4 separate regions of the Homo sapiens genome follow, and all the other regions are linked to region 1. Evidence: promoter capture Hi-C in 16 types of primary human blood cells and fetal thymus (Javierre and others, 2016). All regions are on one chromosome and are shown on one strand. The core of a region is centred on a gene start or on the middle of the fragment in contact, and the rest is flanking DNA. Distances in the headings are between cores, read along the strand shown.

Evidence for each region. The method cuts DNA at HindIII sites, captures the fragments that hold promoters and counts their contacts. A CHiCAGO score of 5 or more calls a contact.
Region 2: a contact is called between the fragment with the promoter of GPAT4 here and the fragment with the promoter of THAP1 in region 1, in 9 of 17 cell types (non-activated CD4 T cells, fetal thymus, total CD8 T cells and 6 more). The highest score is 13.4, in non-activated CD4 T cells.
Region 3: a fragment that was not itself captured here is called in contact with the fragment with the promoter of THAP1 in region 1 in 1 of 17 cell types (non-activated CD4 T cells); the score reaches 6.5 in non-activated CD4 T cells.
Region 4: a contact is called between a fragment that was not itself captured here and the fragment with the promoter of THAP1 in region 1, in 6 of 17 cell types (naive CD8 T cells, activated CD4 T cells, naive CD4 T cells and 3 more). The highest score is 8.5, in naive CD8 T cells.

Annotation. Positions count from the first base shown.
Region 1 is chr8:42,841,961-42,844,666 of GRCh38, reverse strand. It overlaps THAP1 (THAP domain containing 1), which reads left to right and starts at 1,342. Exons shown (of 3, transcript NM_018105.3): 1 at 1,342-1,643. The coding sequence starts at 1,573. LOC124901940 (a long non-coding RNA gene) reads right to left here and starts at 1,733. Exons shown (of 2, transcript XR_007060901.1): 1 at 1,284-1,733; 2 at 1-900. RefSeq lists enhancers at 1,264-1,623, 959-1,749 and a silencer at 1,654-1,743. The HindIII fragment of the contact is 1,565 bases long and covers 583-2,147 here.
Region 2 is chr8:41,576,687-41,579,577 of GRCh38, reverse strand. GPAT4 (glycerol-3-phosphate acyltransferase 4) reads right to left here and starts at 1,378. Exons shown (of 13, transcript NM_178819.4): 1 at 1,300-1,378. It overlaps GPAT4-AS1 (GPAT4 and GINS4 antisense RNA 1), which reads left to right and starts at 1,210. Exons shown (of 3, transcript NR_125824.1): 1 at 1,210-1,272. RefSeq lists silencers at 872-1,011, 1,032-1,651. The HindIII fragment of the contact is 4,489 bases long and covers 1-2,099 here.
Region 3 is chr8:41,512,395-41,515,176 of GRCh38, reverse strand. It overlaps the pseudogene KRT18P37. Among named protein-coding and RNA genes, the nearest start is that of GINS4, 15 kb to the left of the region's middle. The HindIII fragment of the contact is 848 bases long and covers 878-1,725 here.
Region 4 is chr8:41,828,514-41,831,213 of GRCh38, reverse strand. It overlaps a transcript of ANK1 not described here. Among named protein-coding and RNA genes, the nearest start is that of ANK1, 32 kb to the right of the region's middle. RefSeq lists enhancers at 2,329-2,700, 2,675-2,700. The HindIII fragment of the contact is 1,406 bases long and covers 610-2,015 here.

The sequences.
Region 1 (2,706 bases), core at 93-2,592:
GGAGTGCAGTGGTGCAAGCACGGCTCACTGCAACCCCCGCCTCCCGGATTCAAGCGATTATCCTGCCTCAGCCTCCAGAGTAGCTGAAATTCGAGGGCATGTGCCACCACACCCGGTTAATTTTTGTATTTTTAGTAGAGACGTTTTCACCATGTTGACCAGGCTAGTCTTGAACTCCTGACCTCAAGTGATCCGCCCGCCTCGGCCTTCCAAAGTGCTGGGATTACAGGCGTGAGGCACTGTGCCCAGCCCAATATTATTATCTTTAAAGCAAAATTAGGAATGCTTCTGTTCTCAAAATATCGGGATATCTGGACACTTGGTAGTCTGGGTCTGTGTAGTAAACATTATCAATCTGTTGCCTTAATGGTATACACATCTAGAGGCTAGGAATACCTAACTTCCCGGGAATGCAGCCCAGCAAGTCCCAGCCTCATTTTCCTAGCCCTCACTCAACACAGAGTCGCTCTAGTTCGAACCCCTCTAACATATTCTCTCTCAGGTGTGAAAATTGCTGCAGCAGTTCGCTATTTGCAACACAGCACATGGAAATCACAGCAATGGAGAGCCTTCAGAAAAGCTTCTGGGGAGGGACAGCCTGGTGGCTCAACTCCTGTAATCCCAACCCATGGGGAGGTCGAGATGGGAGGATCCCTTGAGCTCGAGTTCCAGACTGACCTGGGCAACGTGGGGAGACAACGCCTCTATTTATTTAAAAAATTACATATATATATATATATATACATACACACACACATATATACATACACACATATATACATACATATACATACATATATATAAAACGCTTCTGCGTTGGCAATTGAGATGATTTGGCGAGTGTGTCTTTTTTCATTGCTAAAAATCTGTCACGTTGGCTCTCACAGAAACTTGTGATACCTGAAGACACAGGTAATGGGATAAAGATTAGCACTCTGGGAAAAGGTTCCACAATTTTATTAATCATACACCATCTGTGTCCGCCCTTTTAAAGAAATGGGCGCAATCAGCCAACGACCTCGGCTTTACACCTGTTCTCCAAGAGGCCCTAGTTGTTCCCTACTGTAAGCTGCCCCAGAAAAGGTCCGCATCAATTAACCCACGGGAACAGCCCGGGGCTGGAGGATGCCCCAGGAATCCGGCCTCCCGCCGCGCCTCCTCCCCCCACAAGCAGTTCCTTCCTGCCTGCCGGAAGCTCAGGGCTCCGCCCACTTCGGCAACTCTGAAGCCACCGCCGGAAACACCTGGCCTCAGCCAATAGTTAGCTTCCCAGGAAACGTTACCTCTGACCTCGGGGCTAATCAGAGACAGTGGGACGCACCCCTCGCGAGAGGTGAGGTTGAAGCTGCCTCCGCCATCTTGGAGATGGGAGACGGGCGATGGCTGTGGTCCTTCTGCTAATGCAAACAACAAAACGGGCACACTAGTCACCCCCGAGGGAGGCCACCATCACTGTAACTGTTGGCCAAAGCTACAAAAGAAGCGAGGGAATCCAACCGAGCGCAGCGACACTGAGAACAGCTTCCCCTGCCTTCTGCGGCGGCAGAAGTGAAGTGCCTGAGGACCGGAAGGATGGTGCAGTCCTGCTCCGCCTACGGCTGCAAGAACCGCTACGACAAGGACAAGCCCGTTTCTTTCCACAAGTGAGGACCCTGCGCGCCTCGCGGGGCCGGTCTCAGCCGGGGTGGGGGCGCGCGGCCGGCGGGGCCGGGGGCGGAGCCAGGCGCGTGTCCGCGCGAGGGGCGGGTGGGGTCTGGGGCCGGCCGTGTCGGGCGTTTCCCACCGCGTCCCGCTGGGAACCGCCGCCCGATCGCGCGTTCTCGGCGCGCGTCGCCGCGGCAGCCGTTTCTCGCGCTCCTGGAACAGGCCCTGGTTGCAGGCTTCGCTCACGGCCTGGGTTGACGCGTTCGGAGCCCACGGGCGATGCCTAGGGTGGCGCGGGTTTTGCCACCACCAGGGTCACAGAGCAGCCAGGTGTTTTAATATGGTCTTAGGGGTAAATTTAAAATAGAAACAAAGGCCTTTAAACGAAGAAATCACTACTTTTCGCCCTTGCCGTGGATGGGAGGCCAGCATCGTAGCAATTAAGGGTTTTTTGGCTGGGAAATCAGGGAGAATTTTTGCCCCCAATCTCTAGGAACTAAGCTTTAAGGACCCTGTATTTTGGAGAAAGCTTCAGGTACTGCCGAGATAAATCGTTATCTTTTCAGCACACAATAATGATAATATGGACAGTTACAACATGGATCATAATAAAATGACTCACACGGATCTTTATTTATTATGGCATTACCTGTGCATAGAGAAAGCTCTTTCGAAAGAAACTGCCCCACAGCTTTCAGAGCTGTCTTATCCAGTAGGTAGCACAGTTAAGTGATAGGATCAAAAATATTCTCTTGAAAATAGGAAAAAAGTGCAGAGTTGTAATTACTTATGATAAACGCTTGTAAAATGTGACATAACATTTTCATTCAGCTGAATTTGTTTACAAATTTTAATTACATTTATGTTAAGTTTTCTTTGCAAGAATTCCTGACAGCTATACGCAGATGATAGGTAAGAAATCAGATCCAGGGGTAAACTATACAGATTAGCCATAGGTAATTAGCTAATTATCTTTTATAATTAGGTAAATAATTACAAAAGCAAAATGTTAAATATCTTTTCAGTTAATTTATTTTTTTGCTGTGGGGCCATCTGTGTTTA
Region 2 (2,891 bases), core at 129-2,628, 1.3 Mb after region 1:
GCGTGAGTCACCACGCCCGGCCATACTTTTTCTTTTAACCTGTTCTATCATGTTAAGATACCTTTTGCTGTGCTCTTTCTTCAACTCTACTGTGTTTCTTAGCTGAAGACCTCATGAGTAGGCTGTGTTCCAAAACAAAAAGCACCTTATGACTTGGTATGGTGGTTTTCATTATGGAACTGAAGCTACTTTTGACAGACTCATCTTGCATCAAGTTCTCCCTGAGACATACGGGAGGGGAAATGGGTGGGGTGTGTATGGCACAGGAATAGCCACAGTTAAGTGGCTGAGGAGGCCAGAACAAGTACATGCTGGTTCCCTATTCCATCTATTTCCCTGTGTCTGAAATTCTCCAAAATACAAAGTTAAAAAAGAAAAGAAAAGCACATCTCTTTCAAAGAGAGAAGTATATTTGATTGGCATTATTACAGGATTTTGTCTGGAGACTTTGGTATGGTATAACTGCTCTTCACACCATTTCCCTTGGATTGAGATAGAATCTACAAGACATGAAACTAAGGAGAGCTCCTCAAAGTTCAGCCAAAATTAAGGAAAATGAACCAAAAACAAAATTCCTCAAATGACCTCAAGGTTATCCATGAGAAGATCCATGGTAATACTTGGCAGAGGATGGAACTTATTTCCATCGTGCTACACCGTATGTCTCCTATAAGCTATTTTCTGCAACTTCTGAACAGCTAAACTTCAGCCCTCTGTGACATGGAAAGCGAGGAAATAAACAAGCCCCACTGGGAGAAGGATGCCTCAGAGGGTGCTGAAATAAAAAAGGAAAGGCAAGGGATTTCAGGAGTTAAGAAATCCTAAAGAAAAATGGGAGCATGCATTTGGAGAAGGAGAGGGTAAAGACATGCATCTTACGGCAGCCAGAGAACACAGGAAGGGGAATGACAGGGGAAGGCGCTTCCTGGTGCTCCAACGCCCAGCAGCCCTCGCCACCCACATCCCCGGACTCCCGGGGCGGGAGGGCTGCGCACACCTGGGACTTGGGGGAGGCGAGGGGCTCCGAGGAGCCGGGCTCGGAGAGCAGGCGAGCGGAGAGGCGGGCGGCCGGGGTTCGGGGCGGGCGCGGACCGTTCCATCCCGGACGGGGGGCACCCGCTCCACCCGCCGGGGATCCCCGGGGCGCGGCGATGGTGCCTCCTGACGCCGGCGCAGCGTCGCCGGGGCGTCCCAGACCGCAGGCCCCGCGCGGCCGCCCAAGCCCGGCTCCCACGTCCCGCTCTCGGCTCCCCGGAGGTCGGAGACTTTGAGGTAAGGGGCCAGCTCCCTCCTACTCACCGACCGCGAGGCTAGGCAGCTCCAAATCCCGCGGCGACCGCTCCCTCCCGCCCTTGCCGCCGCCGCGGGCCCAAGCTGCGTCAGGACGTGCGCGCGCCCGCCTTTGTCTGCGCCGCCCAACGTGACCCTGCGCCCACCGCCCCGCACGCTCCCGTCGGGCGCGCGCGGGCCGGCAGGGCGGGGGCCTAGGGAGAGGCGGGTGCCGCGTGGACCGGTCGCGGGTTGGGCGACCCGCGGAGTCGCCCTCTGGCGGACTAGGGGGCACTGCCGGGGGCGGGGCGGGGCAGGAGCAGGAGAGGCCGGGCCCTGGCTGTCCCTCCGCTGGCGCGTCCCTCTCAGAAAGCGGAGCGCTTCCCTGCGTTAGGACCCGATACTGGCTCCCTCCCCGGAGGTTCGCTTGTGTGTTCCGGAGAGGGTGAAATCAGGCTGGCACCGCGGGAAGAGGCTAGAGTCACTAAATCACCTTGTCCTCTTGAGGCTGCTGTCCGTATGCAGCGACATTCTGCCCGTTAGAGGACTCAGCTCAGGGCCTGGTACGCTCAAGATCTGTTAGCTACCAGCACCATCACCACGACCACCGTCATCACCAGCAGTATCCCTCAGCCTCGTCTACCTTGCTCGTCAAGCAGGGTGCTCCAGGAGTGGGTGTAGGCCACTTTCGCCCTGCCTGGCAGATGCAACTTTCCAACTTCCACCTCCACTTGGACCTGCTCTCTCTACTCAAGTCTAGCTGGTGGCTGCTGGAGTTTGCGTGTGTGTTTCTTACTATATCTTCTGACTTCGGACGCCTAACCCAAGCTTATTATCTCCCCTAAAATGGGACCTCCTTAAAATATATATTACCTTTCTTTTTCCTGTTCTTAAAAGACAGTTTGCCTTTAGTGCCAAGCCCTCTCCGCCGGTTTACGCTGTACACGGCTGTCAGATTGTCATTCCGTGCTAAATGCATAATCTGATAATGAAATCTTTAAAGTCCACATTCTTAGACCTCAAAATCTCTGTAAGAATAAAGGGCAGAGTATGGTAGTTCACGCCAGTAATCCCAGCGTTTTGGGAGGCCAAAGCAGGAGGATCGCTTGAGGCCAGGAGTTTGAGACTAGCCGGGGCAACGTAACGAGACCCCCACTTCTACAAAAATTTTGAAAATTAAAAAAAAATGGTGGGGGGAGCGGGGCGCGGGTAGCTCACGCCTGTAATCCCAGCACTTTGGGAGGCAGAGGCGGACAGATCACTTAAGGCCAGGAGTTTGAGACCAGCCTGGCCAACATGGTGAAACCCCGTCTCTACTAAAAATACAAAATTTAGCCGGGGGTGATGGCACGCACCTGTAATCCCAGCTACTCGGGAGGCTGAGACAGGAGAATTGCATGAACCCAGGAGGCAGATGTTGCAGTGAACTGAGATTGTGGCACTATACTCCAGCCTGTGTGACAGAGCGAGACCCAAACTCAAAAAAAAAAAAAAAAAAAAGAATAACCACTTAGCTCCAAAACACTGGACTACTTATCTCCACCAAATATAACTAAATGTTACCCATTTGGAACTGATCACGTATTTATTAACTCAATCACTTATCCATTCATTGAGCCCTT
Region 3 (2,782 bases), core at 52-2,551, 1.3 Mb after region 1:
GCTCAGATACTATTTTTTTAAAAACCCACAACATCCTGCTAGCATAAACTTGTTTTCACTTGACAATAACCCTTAACCAAAGATCTTTGGTAGTGCCTAACTCATAAAAACTTTTTTTTTTTTTTTTTTTTTTTTTGCAAAATGGAGGCTTAAAAATGTAAAGAGTAGGCGTTAAGTTCCCATAGGGCTTCCTGGTTGTAGGCAGAATTTCACAGAACTTCGTATCTGCAGCATTTGAGGTACATATATGGGAAGAACTTAGGATATAATTCAGAAGAGCCAAGATCTTTATTTTGGTTCTGTAATTCTGTGCCTACTCATTTTGGAGCAAAATACATGTATTGCTGTACCCCTAACAATCCTAGCACGTAGGTGGTCCACAATCCCCATTTTGACATTCCCAACAATCCACAGCAAATGGGATGTTAATCAGATGTTTGCCGTTCTCTACACATTTCCAAGTTTTGAGTACAGTACTGGAGAGTACCATCATAAAGCCATTTATTCCAGCTCTTGGGGGTGGGGTAGAATAAAATCATTCACACTGACACCCTTGCACATTAAAGCTGGTCACTGTGTAATGGTTACAGTCATCGATGTTTATCCTTCCAGCAAGCACACATGAGGACAGGGATGACTCTGGCCTGTTTCAGTTAGTGTTTGCACTACAGAGTAGTCTCTGGTGATGTTAGACTACAAGCGTGCTTGATTCATTTTATCTAATGAGTGACAAGCACCTTTTTTCATATTGTTCTTGTAACTTTGATTTTACATAGAGAAATTCAGTAGCAAGAACTCAAATGAGTACAAAGTATTGTTTGTGCTTTATTAGGTCCTTAGAGAATTTTGAAAAGTGGAAATTATCTGAAAATAAGCTTTTATCAGAAGACTAAGTTAAAAGAATTAAGGAGAAATAGACTTCTAAGTTTTGCAGTTTCAATCATAGCTGGATTTAATGTTACATAGAGAATAATACAGGACAAAGTATGAGCAGGAGGCTTATTTATTATTTACTTTACCCAACTCAGAGGTTTCGATGCAATTCCTTTCCTTTCCCTGGGAATTCCTAATCTAGAATTAAAGGGCATTGGGATCCTCAAGGGTACTTATCTCCAGGCAAAAGTCCACTCTATTGGAGCTTAAGCCACAGATATCTCCTCCCAGTTTTAGAAGACTTTACCAAGGGAGCACACAAATCACTGCCTATCAAAAGCCAGACAAACGCCGCACCAATCCAGGTGTAGCACCGTAATTCTATTCTGATGTTAATGACCTGATGGGTCAACTTACCTCTCATTCATTTATGCACTTTACAAACATGTGAGAGCTAAGTATCTGTAGCACTGTGTATGAGGATGCATGGAGTGTGAGGTGGATGCAAGGGTAAGTAGGAAACCACCTCTGCCCTCATGGAATGTACAATCTCCTTTGTTTGGAGGGGGAAAGAAGCTGGTGAAGGGGAGAGGAGGTAAGTACATAAATCAGATATGGCACCAGTACTCTGATTTCCTTTGACATTAAAACAAATAACAAAAAACAAAGCATGTTACTCCTGGGAAACTGTAGCTTTAACTTATGCTAGGAGCCAGGGCTAAGTGGAATACAGAAGAAATTTAATTGAGGTGTTATGACCTCTTTTTTGTCTCCTGGCTATATAAGTATTATTTACTATGAGTTTCACTGGATAAGGAGAGACATTGAACATTTTATATAGGAAAATAAGCTTACAAAAGAAAGTTGGACTATGGACTGTAACTTCTAAGTTGTTAATTTTCTACAAATCTACCTTATTTAAAAGAAATGGAGTCTGGGTCGGGTGCGGTGGCTCACGCCTGTAATCCCAGCACTTTGTGAGGCTGAGGCTGTTGGATCACCTGAGTTCAGGAGTTCTAGACCAGCCTGGCCAATATGGCGAAACCCTGTCTCTACTAAAAATTGCACCACTGCACTCCAGCCTGGGTGACAAGAGCGAAACTCCATCTCAAAAACAAAAACAAAAAATGGAATCTGTATTTGGATTGTTTGTAACACAGTGCTTGAGGGGGATGAGTAGCCCATTTGACATACTGTAATTATTACGCATTGCATGCCTGTATCAAAACATCTCATGTACACCGTGAATATAGACACCTATGTACCCAGAAAAAAAAATAATAAAACTACACTGAGTCATCAGGTGATCCAAGATAGTAACAATAACTGTGATGCCTTTTTCCTAATGAAACATGCCAATGTCTTATTTCTTTAAATATGTTTTTTAGGCTGGGTGTGGTGGCTCACACCTGTAATCCCAGCACTTTGGGAGGCTGAGGCAGGCAGATCACCTGAGGTCAGGAGTTTGAGACCAGCCTGGCCCACATGGTGAAACCCTGTCTCTACTAAAAATAAAAAAATTAGCTGGGCATGGTGGCGGGCGCCTGTAATCTCAGCTACTCGGGAGGCTGAGGAAGGAGAATCACTTGAATCCGGGAGGCGGAGTTTGCAGTGAGCCGAGATGGTGCCATTGCACTCCAGCCTGGGCAAAAAGCAAAACTCCATCTCAAAAAAAATATACATTTTTTAATTACCATGGACTATTCCTTGATGTTTTTTTGACCTCTGAACTTTTTATTGGCCTCTTACTCCCCACAGGGTACCCTGCTTCTGCTGGCTTAATGTCTCAGAACTTTGGTGTCACTGATCTCAGACACCACTTTGCTATCCACTATCTGGCGGGTGGTGGTCTTTTGGATGGTTTGCATGGAGTTGCTGCTGTCCAGGGCATCACCAAGATTGAGGCCCT
Region 4 (2,700 bases), core at 63-2,562, 1.0 Mb after region 1:
GAGGGGCTTTCGGTTTTACAGATGGGGAAATGGAGGCCTTGAGAGGTCAGATGACGAGTCCATAGTTTTAAGGAAGGTCGTCGTCAAGGTCCAGGCGGAGCCTCGTCTCCTGTCTCCCAGGCCGCTGTGCTTTCGTCTGTATCTCAGTTCCCTTCATCATCTGTTGCTGCAAGCTTATTCTCATGGGATCCGTTTATGGGACACATTGGGCCACCAACAATTAGCCTCTCCATGCACTGATAAGGAATGTGACCAAAAAGATTAATCCATTTGGTGAGGTGACCAAGTGATTATGTAAACAGCCGTGTTGATGAACAGAATCTATCTTCAAAGGTTATGACAGTATTATACACACAGCCCTCACGCTGGGCATTTGGCTTGATGGAGCTGTCTGCAAAATTATTCTTCAATGATTCATCTACCAAATTATTCTTCTCAGACCTTTTCAAGCAGAACCGACACAGAACTGGTGTCTGCGTTTCTTTGGCACTGGGTAGGTAGGAGCTGTTTGCTTTTCTTACTCGCTTCTGACTCCCTTTGCCTTGGGATTTGGGTCCTATCCCCGAAAGCCCTAGTCCCAGACAACCTTTTCTTTACCTGCTTCAAGCTTAGAATCAAGAGAGCAGTTCCTGACACTCCCTGGGAATCTTGGCTTTACCACAATTCTAGCTTTTGAACATTTCAATGGAGGATTAATTGTTATTCATGCTGTCATTGTTATGTAGGTCATTTTTTCTTTGGATCAAGTTGACGGGATTTTATCATCTGTGGAAAGCAGCCATATACCAGAATGAAGAATACTTTTGATTGATGATTTAGCTTAAAAATAGTTTCCTCTTTTAATAAGCCTCATTCGGGAACAAATGACCCCAGAGGGAAACTGGGTGCTTATCTAGTAGCCTATGTATTTTGCAGAGAATTTCTAGAAATGTGTGTATTTTGAAGAAAAGAAGAGGGGCTTTGGCTGTTTGGTCCTGGAGATGGGTCTAGGAGCCTGGGGTGGGGGCATCTATTGGTCTCTCCTAGCTGACCCCTGCCCAGAGAACTGCAGTGCCCCTTGCCCAAATAAAAGGTATGCCCGAGTGGCTGAGTGGGTGTTTCTAGTTGGATTACTGCAGGCTCAACATTAGATTCACCAAATCATTATTTAGTACTTGCTCTGTGCTGGGCAAAATTTCATTGATGTTATCGGAGGAATATCTAGGCAAAGAGAGGAGACCTCACTTATAAAAACTAAAGGCCTTGTCACGTCAGATTTTTTTTTTTTTTTTTTTTTTTGAGACAGAGTCTCGCTCTGTCGCCCAGGCTGGAGTGCAGTGGGGCGATCTCGGCTCACTGCAAGTTCAGCCTCCTGGGTTCAAGCCATTCTCCTGCCTCAGCCTCCCAAGTAGCTGGGACTACAGGCGCCCGCCACCACGCCCGGCTAATTTTTTGTATTTTTAGTAGAGACGGGGTTTCACCGTGTTAGCCAGGACGGTCTCGATCTCTTGACCTCGTGATCTGCCTGCCTCGGCCTCCCAAAGTGCTGGGATTACAGGCATGAACCACTGCGCCCGGCCCAGATTTCTTTTTAAAAGGCAGTTAGGGATGGCAGTCTTAGACAATGAGCTCCCCTAGTGCCCTTCCAATGGAGAAGCACAACGAGAATCTAATTTGTAAATACCAGGTCTTACACGGTGAGTGGGACTAGGAGAAGGCATCGACTGCACGCTGGGGTCAGTTGCCTGGGAGCGAATCCAGCTCCACTCCCTGCTGTGGCCTTGAGCAAGTAGCACTTAACCTCTCTGAGCCTCTTTCTGCATCTGAAAAATGGGATTGGTCATAAGGTTGCGATGGGCATGTGCCCCCTGAGAAACATCAGTAAGGTGGCAAGGGTGGCGAAGACGCTGTTCCTCGGGTTTTGTTCCAGCGACGAAAGCTAAGTTCATCAAGCCACAAGAAGAAATCTCAGATTTTTTTTCCCCCTAGGAAATGTGAAAATTGAAGGTTTCCTTTGAAGCCTTGTGGCAGAAGCTTCTGAAAGCCGAGTCACAGATCTTGCACAGTGCTGTCCCAAACGCCGCTGATGTGCAAACGGTGGCCCCCGTCCCCGTAGGGAGGCCAGAATGGGACAGCAGAGATTGCGGCAGGGTGTCCGGTGAGCAGGGGACCCTCACGGACCGGTCTAGACGCGAGACTAGGATTTATTTATTAATTCTTTCAACTGCGGCGGTGGAATCAAGATGGCCTAGAGGGCGCCAGGGGGCGCTCTGGAGAGGACGGGCGGCAGATCCGAATGGGCCCCGAGGAGGGCGGCGCCCCGGGTCACGCGCGACTTCTGCGGAACCCGCCTTTGCCGCGCAGTTTTCGGGATTCGCGGGAAGAAGGCGCAGCCTCCCAGGCCCAACTCTCTCCCCAGCACTTTCGCGTGGAAAATCTTCAGGAAAATGAAATGTAGCTCCCCGTATGCCCTCTCCCCAAAGATGTAAAGGACTCTGGAGCGGGCGCGAGGAGCAGTTCCTGTTTCATTACGAGCGCCCCCTCTCCAGCCCGGTCATTGTAGTGCGAACCAGAACAATCAAATTAACAGAGGCACTCAGGAGCCTTTTAGTGCTACTGTTCCAGGAACTGAAGAGGCCTCGGTATGGGAATCCCCACAGAGTAATAAACAGCACGTGGTTGGAGCGCCGAGGAGGAGACTCGCTCCACCTGGTGGCGGTG